Linked DNA regions of Homo sapiens: region 1 is linked to region 2. The links are contacts of gene promoters, found by promoter capture Hi-C in blood cells and fetal thymus (Javierre and others, 2016). All regions are on one chromosome and are shown on one strand. Each heading gives the region's core, a stretch centred on a gene start or on the middle of the fragment in contact. The rest is flanking DNA. Distances are from core to core; before and after follow the strand shown.

What was found. Contacts are between HindIII fragments. The CHiCAGO score rates a contact against its expected background, and 5 or more counts as called.
Region 1: a fragment that was not itself captured here is called in contact with the fragment with the promoter of FAIM2 in region 2 in 3 of 17 cell types (endothelial precursors, M1 macrophages and M0 macrophages); the score reaches 6.0 in endothelial precursors.

What each region holds. Positions count from the first base shown.
Region 1 is chr12:50,062,331-50,067,819 of GRCh38, reverse strand. The region is part of intron 3 of ASIC1 (acid sensing ion channel subunit 1); the gene reads right to left. Among named protein-coding and RNA genes, the nearest start is that of ASIC1, 7.5 kb to the right of the region's middle. The HindIII fragment of the contact is 892 bases long and covers 1,739-2,630 here.
Region 2 is chr12:49,900,910-49,906,275 of GRCh38, reverse strand. It overlaps FAIM2 (Fas apoptotic inhibitory molecule 2), which reads left to right and starts at 2,376. Exons shown (of 12, transcript NM_012306.4): 1 at 2,376-2,498; 2 at 4,951-5,146. The coding sequence starts at 2,484. The HindIII fragment of the contact is 12,443 bases long and covers 1-5,366 here.

The DNA of each region.
Region 1 (5,489 bases), core at 935-3,434, 160 kb before region 2:
AAATGAACTGGCAAAGAGACAGAGGAGTGGGTAGACATAGGAGGAAAACAAAGAGAGTATGATTGTCAGGAAAGCGAATAGTTCAAAAAAGAGGTGGTGGGGTCCGGGCGCAGTGGCTCACGCCTGTAATCCCAGCACTCCGGGAGGCCGAGACAGGCGGATCACCTGAGGTCGGGAGCTCAAGACCAGCCTGACCAACATGGAGAAAACCCGTCTCTACGAAAAATACAACAACAACAAAAAAATAGCCGCGCATGGTGGCACGCATCTGTAATCCAGCTACTCAGGAGGCTGAGGCAGGAGAATTGCTTGAACCCAGGAGGCGGAGGTTGCAGTGAGCTGAGATGGTGCCACTGCACTCCAGCCTGAGCAACAAGAGCAAAACTCCGTCTCAAAAAAAAAAAAAAAACAACAGCAGAAGAGTTGGTGGGCAACTATTTTAAATGCTATTGAGAGATCAAGAATAATAAAAAAAATATTTGCTGGATTCGGCAACATGAAGGTGACCACTGGCCTTAGCTAGAACCATTTAGGAGGAATGGTGATGATGGGGGAAGAAGGCAGCCTGGAGTGGATCAGAAAGTGAGTTAGAGATGAGGAAATAGAAACAGTGAAATAAACATATCACTTTTAGGAACTTTGTAAAGGGAAGCAGAGAGATACTATAGGAGCTGGCAGGTGCTGTGGAGTTGAGAGACACATGTTTTAGTTTTTATCTTAGCACAAAGACCGATACATAGCAAGTTCTCAATATATGTTAGCTGTCGTTACAGCTATGTATTTTAAGACAAGAGCATCTTCAGCATGTTTCATTGTCAATGGGGTTTCACTTGAGAAAGAGCGACCAACTGTAGAGCAGGGAGAGACAGAATTAGCAGGAGAAAGATCTTAAAAAGGCAGAGGGAATAAGATGAAAATTCTAGGTTGAGACTTTATCCTAGATAAGATGAATGTTCCCTTCTAGGGCTTGGTACCCAGAAGAAGGACAAGATCTTGTCTGAGGCTTCTATTTTCTCAGTGAAGTAAGTGGTAGCCAAGGTCATCCGCTGAGGGTGAGAGAGGAGCTAGGAAGGGTGACTGAGAAGAGTGGAGAAGTTCGAAGTAGTCATCAGAGAGAGCAAGCTGACCAGGAAAACACAGTGGGGTTGCCAGGCAGCACTGCACGCCCATTTAAGGATGTTGAGCATGAACGCAATGTGATACTAAGCTGCCCTGGTATGTGACTTCCTCAGGGAGGTCCTGACTGCCCTGGTGTGACCCTGGGGAAAGCCAGTGGTGGGTTCACCTAAGATTGGCACTTGGCCTGATGATGCAATGAAAAGACAAAAGCATCAAAAAACTAGGCCTACTCAACTTGGGAACGGGATTCCTAGGGTCTCTTCTCTATACCCTTTCTTGCCCTTCCTGCCTCTCCACACTGCTTCTCAACAGAGCACCCTCCTCCATACACACTCCTACAGCCACACACAAAGAACCCGGACTTAGAAGATCTGAAGTCAGGGTCCCACTCTGTCATTTCCCAGCTGTGTGACCTCAGGCAAGTCACACAACTCCTCTGAGCCTCAGTTTTCCCATCTTTCCAATGAAGATGTTAATAATTTCCTTCCTACAAGAATTATGAAGATCACGTGAGCTAAAGTAAAGGGAATTTGTAAATTGCAAAGCACAACTGAAAGAGATGATTAATTTTGCTAGTATGTGCTCTGCATGCAACCAGAGGTTTGCCTACACAGAAGCTTTCTCTCACAGCCACACACACCAAGCTGCATGGGCCCCCATACACCTCCACATGCTTCCACTTCACACTCTACATTCACACTCCCCTGCAGACACACACAGAGGTGCACATGTGTGCTTGCATGCTCGGGGCGCATATGTGATGAGGGTGTTGTGAGGAAGTCTGAGATGGCTGCTGTCCATGGCCAAGGCCACTGCCACAGTCTCACCCCCAGGGATGTTCTCAGCCTGGCATGCTGGTGTGACACCAACTAGAGACACATGGCACTAAGCTGCACAGCCCAACCTCCTGGGCCCCCAGAACTGTCAGCCACACAGAGGGCATGCAGAAGGGTGGGAAAGCATTTTCTATCCAAGAACTCATGGGATCTCAGAAAGATCACAATTGACCCTCCCTCTCCCTGGAGAGTGGCCTTGGAGAGCCTGGGGTGGCAGTGTCTGTCCTTACAGTTCCTTAAGGGAACTTCCCTTTCAAGTGAATACACAGCAGCTTCATGATCATTTTTAAATATTCTATGAGGAAGATGTCCAATTCCTGTGTCCAGGTAGGTTGGCGCTGCACATCCATTACACATGGGGCACCGTGGGCTTGGCCAAAGAGTCCCAGAGGAAGGACTGCCCCTCAATAAAGAATAATTTTACAACCTCCTTACAGGAGATTGGGCTTAGAAGCTAAGAAGTGGGGCCAGGTGGAACTTTGCCCAAAATAGAGACCAGGAGCCCTAATGCCCAGTCCTATCCTCCACCCAGCTAGGCACCCCTTCTCATTCTCGCTGTCTCCTTCCAGCTTTGCCTCCCAGAATGCACACCTAAGGGTCCTGACTGGGACGTTATAGGTCAGAAGGTAGAGGCTTCTGCATTGGCCACCCCAAACATACAAGTGAGGGAAAGCTTGGGGGTGGGGGTGGGCAGGGGTTGGCCAAGGCGGAAGAATGGCCGGAGAGAATTGGCCGGTTGATTTAGTTAGCTGGGGAGACACCAACATATTCTATGAACCTGGCATTTTCCGAGAGGCTGAGTTTGGCTGGGGAGATTGGGAGGACTCCCCCTGGATGTTGAGAGTCTGCTCATCCCCAGCATGTTCCCCCTTGTTCTGAAGCCCACCCCACTGGGCCCCCTTTAGTACCACCCCCATGGCTCTCAGCCCTGAACCTTCCGTGCTGCACTTAACTGCCCCAGCGCAGGACCTGGCACATGGAAGTGGCACTGTCTGCTATGGGAATGAATCCAGTGGAGCTTAACGCTCCCCTAATCCCAGCTTCTCATTCTGAATATTCTGTCTCCCTCGCTATCCCCAGAGAATTGAAATTACTTTCCACAAAACTGAAACACACTCAGAAGCAACCTCCATCCACAGCAGAACATTCCAAGCCTCTCTGTGGGCCTGCCCTTCTGCCTCCAGGACACACTGGGCATGCAGTGGCCATATCCAGGAGTTCTCCACCAGCTGGGCAGTGACAAAGTCCCAAGACTTAGAGGTGCTCCTCCCCAGCCCTCCACTTCCAGGCTTGGCCCCCAGAGGCACTTAGTTACTGAATTCCCTATTGCTTTAGCCAACAGCCCCCAGGTCAATTAGCTTAGAGTAGTTCTTAGCTGATAGCTGTCTGAGAGAGGGATGGAGTCAGAAATGGCTGGGGTCTGGGGAGAAGGGGAAGAGGTGAGAGAGGAAATTGGGCTACCTGAAGGATGTTTGTGTGTATCTGTGTCTGAGAGAGAGGCAAAAGGAGACATCTGAGACCCCAACCCAGGGACCACCCACTGGATTCCTGCAACTGCAATGGGCTCTGCTCCCATCTCCTCTCTCCACCCACCTGTGTTCAGTTTAGGCACTTCCTAGGAGAGAGGGACAGATGAGAAGGATAAGGCAGGAGGTGGTAGCCATGAACCCCTAGGGCAGGAACCCTTCCCCCAAAGTTCATGAACCCCATGAACCCCTCCTCTAAAGTTACTGTCTCCAGGTCGGCCTCTTCTATCCCTCTGCAATCTGTGCATGTTCCCCCTTCCCACCCATGAAGACCACCAGGCCTCTGGGTGGGGCTGCCCAAGATTCCCCTTCCCCTGTCTGCATGGCAGTCTGGGCAGCCTTTCCCTTCAGCAGCCCCTCCACTCCCTGCCTAGCTGGAGGGTGCAGACCCCAGTAGTAAGGTCAGGCCCTCCCAAGGGACTTCTGGTCTGAGCTTCTATGGGGCAGCATGGGGTGTGGGGATGAGGGGTGAGCCCTAGGGATGAATAAACTCCATGCTAGTCCTGGCTCTTGCTGGGCACTGCCATCCCTGGCTCTCCTGCTTTAAGATGACTTCTCTCTCCCCACTTTGGGTCCCAGGATCAGGCGCCCACAGCCACCTCTCATTGCAGCATCTTACTTCCCTAGGTGCTCCAGGGGATGCCCGGGCCCCTTCAGAACCTAGCAGTGGATTGCAGGGGAGGCTTCTGTGCTCATCCCCATTCACTCCACCTCTTCCCTGGGAGATTCTGGTCTCCAATCCAGGGTCCTGAGAAGGACTCCTGTGGACCCCTCCCAGGGATTCCTGTCCCCCAATTTCACCCTCCTGAGAGAGATTATGAGTCACACCACATGTCCACCCCAGCATTTCCACTCTGTCCTCCTCTTCCTTCTCTTCCAGGCCCCAGAAATGAATTCCTGCTTCTCTCTCCGCTAGGCAAAGGGTCTAGGTCTCAGCGGAGGAGGGGGTGGCATAGGGCAGACTGGGTGACCATCTGCCAGCCCCCTCCCCTTGCTGCTGCTCAGCATTCTGGCCACATCAGCTGCTCCCACTGCCAGGGACAGATAAGGTGCAGCTGGAGGATGGCACCAGCTGCGACTGTGCTCACTTCTCTGGCCCCCACCCAGACACCAGCAGACAGCTGCACCCCAGCCCCCCTCCATGGAATCCCTGCCCTGCCTTGGCCTGGCTGGCCTCAAGGTGGGGCAGGAGAGAGGAGCCATGGACCCCATTGTCTTGGCAACAACACACCCTACCAGGAAGAAAAGGAGGTGGCCGGGAAGAGGGGGCCTTGTGGTTGGGTCACTGTGGTTGCTCAGGAGGCAGCTATTGAAACCTTCCCAGCCAGGTTGCTGTGGGGATACTCCCTGCCCTGCCCTTCTCCCTCTTCAGTCCCGAAGGATTTCCAAACCAGTCTCTCCCAGATTCAGCTCAGGCTCCCCATATTCACCCCCACCCTCCCAAGCTGACTCAGCCACACCTGGGGGATGGACCCTGGCCAAATGCTTTGTGACCACCAACTATTCCCTGGGGTTGAGCTAGATCCAGGAGCACATCTGGAGAAATGCCTGTTACTGCAGATCCTCATCAGGGGAGCTGGGGTCTTTGAGTGACCAGAGTAGCCTCCCTGAATTGTCTTCTTATGCCTCCCCCAACCAGCCTTGAGAAACAGGGTTCTTATTGTTGAGAAGAGGGTTGCCCTTAGAAATCTACAAAAGAGTCCACACGTGCCCCCGCACGCTATACTTTGCAAAAGCATTGAGCAAGGTCTTGGACAGTGGGGGGTGGTATCCCACAGCAATCCTGTTGGATGGGGCCCAGCAGCTTCTTCCTGAGCTACTGAAAGAGCAAGCAAAGCCCTAACCACAAAGCCTCTCTTCCCTGACTACCTTCTTTCCTCAGTGAAGAACCTCTGCTCTGAAGGCTGCAGAAGATGCCAAGATGGTCTCCCTTAGATCGACCCTATAGACAGGTGTTTCCTGTCAGTGCTACATCTGCCCAGGGCTAGAGACACACTCCCAACACACC
Region 2 (5,366 bases), core at 1,127-3,626:
AGCAGAGTAGTGAAGTTAGTGAGGGAGGGAGCCACGCAATGATCTGTAGAATTTCCAAACAAGACACAGCCAGTGCAAAGGGCCTCAGCTAAGCGCATGCTCAGCCCAGTCTAAGGAATGGCCAAGAGGCCTGTGTGGCTGGAGCAGAGTGAATGCGAGAGAAGGAACAGGAGTGATTCACAAACATGAAAGTGCTAAGGCTGATGAAAGTCAGGCTCTGCGTAGTGCCATGTCTGGGAAATATTACTAGCTACAATTGATGGAGTGCATTCCACACACCTGGCACTGCATTCAGTCCAGCTCACACCAAAACTGCTACAGGAGCTTAGAGTGTAACAGGGAGTCAGTCAAAGAAACTTCACAGCGCCACGTGACAGGCGTTACATCAGGGTGCTAGGGAACTACAGAAGAGGAGCATCTAACCCCAACTAGGGGGGGAAGGAGGCTTCCTGGAGGAGGTGGCATTCAAGCTGTCAAGCAGGAGAAGGAAAACACTTCCAGGATGCAGATGCAGAGAAGGAGGGAAGGCCAGAACCTGGACCAGCTGGTCAGAGCTCCAGGTGCAGTGCTGGGGACCAGGGCACAGCTTGCTGGAAGAAGAGCTCGGGTTTGTAGGGTTGAGAGAGCCTCTGGACACGGAGGCCCAGGCTTAAGTGTGTTTGTGCAAAATTGGTGGTTATGGAGTGGGGGACAAAGGGCAAAAAGGGGTGGGATAAAGACTTTGATAATTAGGCCAGGCACGGTGGCTCACACCTGTAATCCCAGCACTTTGGGAGGCTGAGGAGGGTGGATCACTTGAGGTCAGGAGTTGGAGACCAGCCTGGCCAACATGGTGAAACCCTGTCTCTACTAAAAATACAAAATTAGCCGGGCGTGGTGGTGCGCGCCTGTAATCCCAGCTACTCAGGAGGCTGAGGCAGGAGAATCACTTGAACCCGGAAGACAGAGGTTGCAGTGAGCCAAGATTGTGCCACTGCACTCCAGCCTGAGCAACAGAACAAGATTTTCTCTGTAAAAAAAAAAAAAAAAAAAAAAAAAAAGACTTTGATAATTTGTCTGCCTACCTGGGCCCTGCTTTCTCAGGGACTTTAGGTGGGTCCCTGGGCAGTGAGAGGGAAGCAGAAGGTAAGTGGCCACCCCCACCTGTCCCAGGTCTTAGTTTCTCGTCCCATCCTAGCAGGTTCAGATACTTCTTTTAGGCAGATTTGTGGGTGCTCGCTCTGGGGCAGCCCAGGACATTCTGGTAGGAGACTCCTCAGTTAATAATACCTCACATACTTCCAGCACTTCTTGGTCTTTTATGTGCTTTTACGGCCATAACCTGTGCGTCTGACAGTCAATCTAGGATGGACAGAGCTCTGTTCTAAGCCTCTTTTTCGTAGGAGCTGCAGCTCAGAGAGGTTAAGGGCCTTGCCAAGGCCACGCGGCCAGTGGGTGACTAAATTGGGACTTGATCCCAGCTCTTGAGATTGCAAACCCCATAGTGACACTGCAGCAGCTACAGAAAACGGGGCCTGATGATGGCTGGGTCCCAGTGACACGTCTGGGGAAGCGGGGAGAACGAGCTCTGGCATGGGAGGAATGGAAAAGGGGGGAAGATGGAGACGGGGTGATGGAAGCTAAGCGTGGAGGCAGGAAGAGAGCTCTGGCAGGGGTTGTAGAGGCTTTGAGACAGAACTAGCGGTGTCTCCAGAAAGACCCCGTGAAATGTCCCAGCAGGGCTGAAAGAAACAGAAGAGGTGTCCTCCCACCCCATGTCTCTGTGAACCAAGGCAGGGAGGGACCTACTGTGTGCATTTCACAGGCGAGAAAAAGGAGCAAGGATAGGTGGCTATTGGCTTGCCCCAGGCCCACAGGAGCGCAGGGCCCAGGGGCCCTGTTAGAAGCGGGCAGCACAGGCGAGACTTCCAGACCTTCCCCTCTACCAGGGATGATGAAATAGATGATGAGAGGGGAGGTGGAGATGGAGACAGAAATCAGGGCCGCATCCAAAGAGGGAGGAGGAAAAGGCAGAGGCGCAGCTGGAGCTGCAGAGAGGTGCAGAGACAGTGGAGATGAGGCCCTGATGCCCGGCTCTGGTTTCACGCGGGCAGCGTCAGCTGGTCGGTGTCACGGAGTTCCCGCGTCCTCCGCCCGCTCAGCCCCCGCGGACCCATCCACTGGGGTTGCTCCGCAGCGCGACTCTCTCTCATCCCGGGGGAGGGCTAAGGGCGGCGGTGGGGGGCGGGGTGGGGGGGAAGCGGCGGGAGGGGGCGGTGCGCCGCCGCCTTACCCCGGGCTCGCGAATCCGCAGCGTCCTCCGCAGCATCTTCCCAGGCCCGGCCCTCTCCTCCCCCCGCGCCGATGGTACGCGCCGGCTCGCCTGGCCCGGCTGCAGTGGATGTTGCTAGAACCCACGCGGAGGAAGGAAGAGACGCAGGCAGGCTGCGGTTACCCAAGCGGCCACCCGGGCCTCAGGGACCCCTTCCCCGAGAGACGGCACCATGACCCAGGGAAAGGTACCGGCATCTCCCCAGCCTGCACCATCCTCCATCCTCCGGCTCCCGGCTCCCTGTCATCCTCAGCAAGCCCTCTGGACCACGAAAGCATCCTCCCCTGGCCCTAGTTTGAAGGTCCTCCGTGGTCCTTGCTGAAGTCAGAGGACCGAAAGGCCGGTGTCAAGGAATGGACCGAGGCCTCTTCCTGCCCGCAGGCGCGCCTCTCCTCCCCTGTCACCCTGCCACCCCTGCTTTGGCATTACAGCATTACAAGGCTCCTCACAGATACCCAGGCCCCCCGTGAGGAGTCAGCCCGGGCGTCTGGTGTGACTGTATGTGTGTGCATGGGTATGTGTGTGCCAGGGTGAGCCCTGAGGGGCAGTGCCTATCGGGCAACCCCCTCTGGCCCAACCCTCCAGTCCCAAACCCAACCACTTTATGCTCATCTTTCCCACCCTCCACGGAAACAACCCCCACCCTACTCCCTGCCATTGTTCCACATCTGGGCGTCTTGGCTCCATCCCTGTGCTTGGGGCTTGCTATGACAACTCTGCATCAAGATGCTCTAATTGTTGTTTTGGTTTTGGCCAGGCATGGATGGGTCCGGATGAAGCATCTCTTCTCCAGTTTTAGGCCTGAATTGTAGGGGAGGGGCTGGGGCAGAGACTCGGCTGGCCTAGTAGGCTTATGTAACATCAATAGCCTGTGGAATTATACAACCACTAGGGCCTGGGGCTAAGGGGGAGGGTACTCGGGCCCTCTGTTTGGGTTGCTAAGGATTGGGCAGAGAAAACAGGGGAAGGACCTCCCCTACACTCCCCCTTCTTCTCTTTGAGAGGAGCTTCAGAGCCAATGACATCCTTCCCTGGACCCTCAGACCCTCCTCTCCCTGTATGCAAGCTCTTTGGGCCTCAAATGATGTCACTGGGTGATACCACCTCCCGCCATTGGTCACACCTCACTTGGGAGTGCCGTATGTGTGTCGGGGGCCTGGGCATTAGGGTCCAGGAGGCTCTGGGGGGCGGAGTGGCAGGGTGGAGGCTGAACTCGATTTAGGTGGACATGATCCTTCAGATCCGGGTGATGAGGGGGGCTGGGGAGTGGGAGGCAGTGGGAGGCCTGGGGAGTGTTCAGTTCCGTAAACATGGAGAACTCACCCCTTCTGCTGAGTCTCCTTCCACCTCCACCCTGCCTCCACCAGGCCCTTTAGTGGCGCTGTTCCCTTCCTGGTGTGAGGGGGACCTCTGCCTCCTCTGCCCCTTGTCCCCAGCTCACGCACAGGCTTGCTGGGGGATGGAGAAGACCGCTCCAGTTCAGTGGTCCTTGGGCCTGGATGGAACCAGAAGTCTTCTGGTGCGTGCCTGTCTCCAGGCTGCCTCAGCCAGATGCTCCCTGCAAAGAAGGAAGTCCGCAGTCTTCCTCAGTGGCCCTTTAGGTCTAACACAGTCTTCTGGGAACCAGACCTAAATCCCATTTTCTGAGAGCCGGGCTTTTTGTTGCTGTTTCAATTTCACACCACCCCCTCCACCCCAGTCTTTCCTTCTCTGGCTGCCTCATTCAGGCCTTCCCAGCTCAAATCCTCTCACCAAAGCTAAACATGTCCACGGGTGGGGGGCAGGGGACACATCTGAGTGTAAATGGACTCGCATTTCCAACCTGCCATGGGGACGTTTCCCTTTGAGCCTCAGTTTCCTCATCTGTTCAGTGACGGAAGAGACTCAACTGGATGTCTTCTGAGGCCCCTTCCACTGGGTCACTCTGTGAGTCTGTTCTGGTTTAGGGGAGAGGCTGAGATTCCTACAGGATGAGGCCAGAACAGACCCTTAGCCTGGATCCTCTTGCCCTTCCTCCACCCTGAAGGCCCTTCTTCTTTTCTGTTTTCTCCCTCTCCTCTTCCCTTTCTGTTGCCCTTCTCTCTCCCATCTCCATTCTCCTTGCATCACTTCCAGCGCAACAGAAGGATCAATCCCAGTGGATGATGCCTAGGCCCTGCCTCTCAGTGGGCCACATGCAGCTCTGTGACCTTGGATGAATCGCTCTTCCTCTGTGATCCTCATTCTCCTCATTTTAAAGCAGGGGTCAAAATGCAGCTAGCAAGTCTCAGGAAGATTAAATGACATAACCTTTTATTTGTAACAATCTACTATGTGCCAGGCTCTTTTCTGGAACCATAGAGACCCTGCCCCTACCCCAGGGACAATGACAGTGACAACCAATGGTGGACACTCCTAAGAATTTTCTCTTTCCTCTGTTCCTATCCCAGCTCCACCATGTGCCCCAGCTAGCTCTGACCCCTCTGGAGCTTAGTTCTCTTGTCTATAAAATAGAGACATTCTTGTCTGCATTCCTGGCTTCCAAGTGCAGGTAAGGAAGGAACCATGAAAGTTCCAGGAATTGAAGAGTTGGTGAGGAGGAGGAGTTGGAAGGCTCCCTTTCCCTGGTGACTATCTCTCTCTCTGACTCTACTCCATAGCTCTCCGTGGCTAACAAGGCCCCTGGGACCGAGGGGCAGCAGCAGGTGCATGGCGAGAAGAAGGAGGCTCCAGCAGTGCCCTCAGCCCCACCCTCCTATGAGGAAGCCACCTCTGGGGAGGGGATGAAGGCAGGGGCCTTCCCCCCAGCCCCCACAGCGGTGCCTCTCCACCCTAGCTGGGCCTATGTGGACCCCAGTAAGTCTTTCAGCTCCTGGAACCTGAAGCATCATGGGGTGGGGGTGGACCCAGAGGGAAAACCTGAGTAGGAGGAAGTTGTCCAGAAAGAGGTACACTGTGTGGTTGTATGAAGCTGTGTTGTTAGATGCTTAGGATTTGGAGAACTAGTCTGAGGGTAGGTCAGAGACAACTCCATGAAAACAGAGAGAGATACAATGTCTGCATCAGGGTGCTCTCA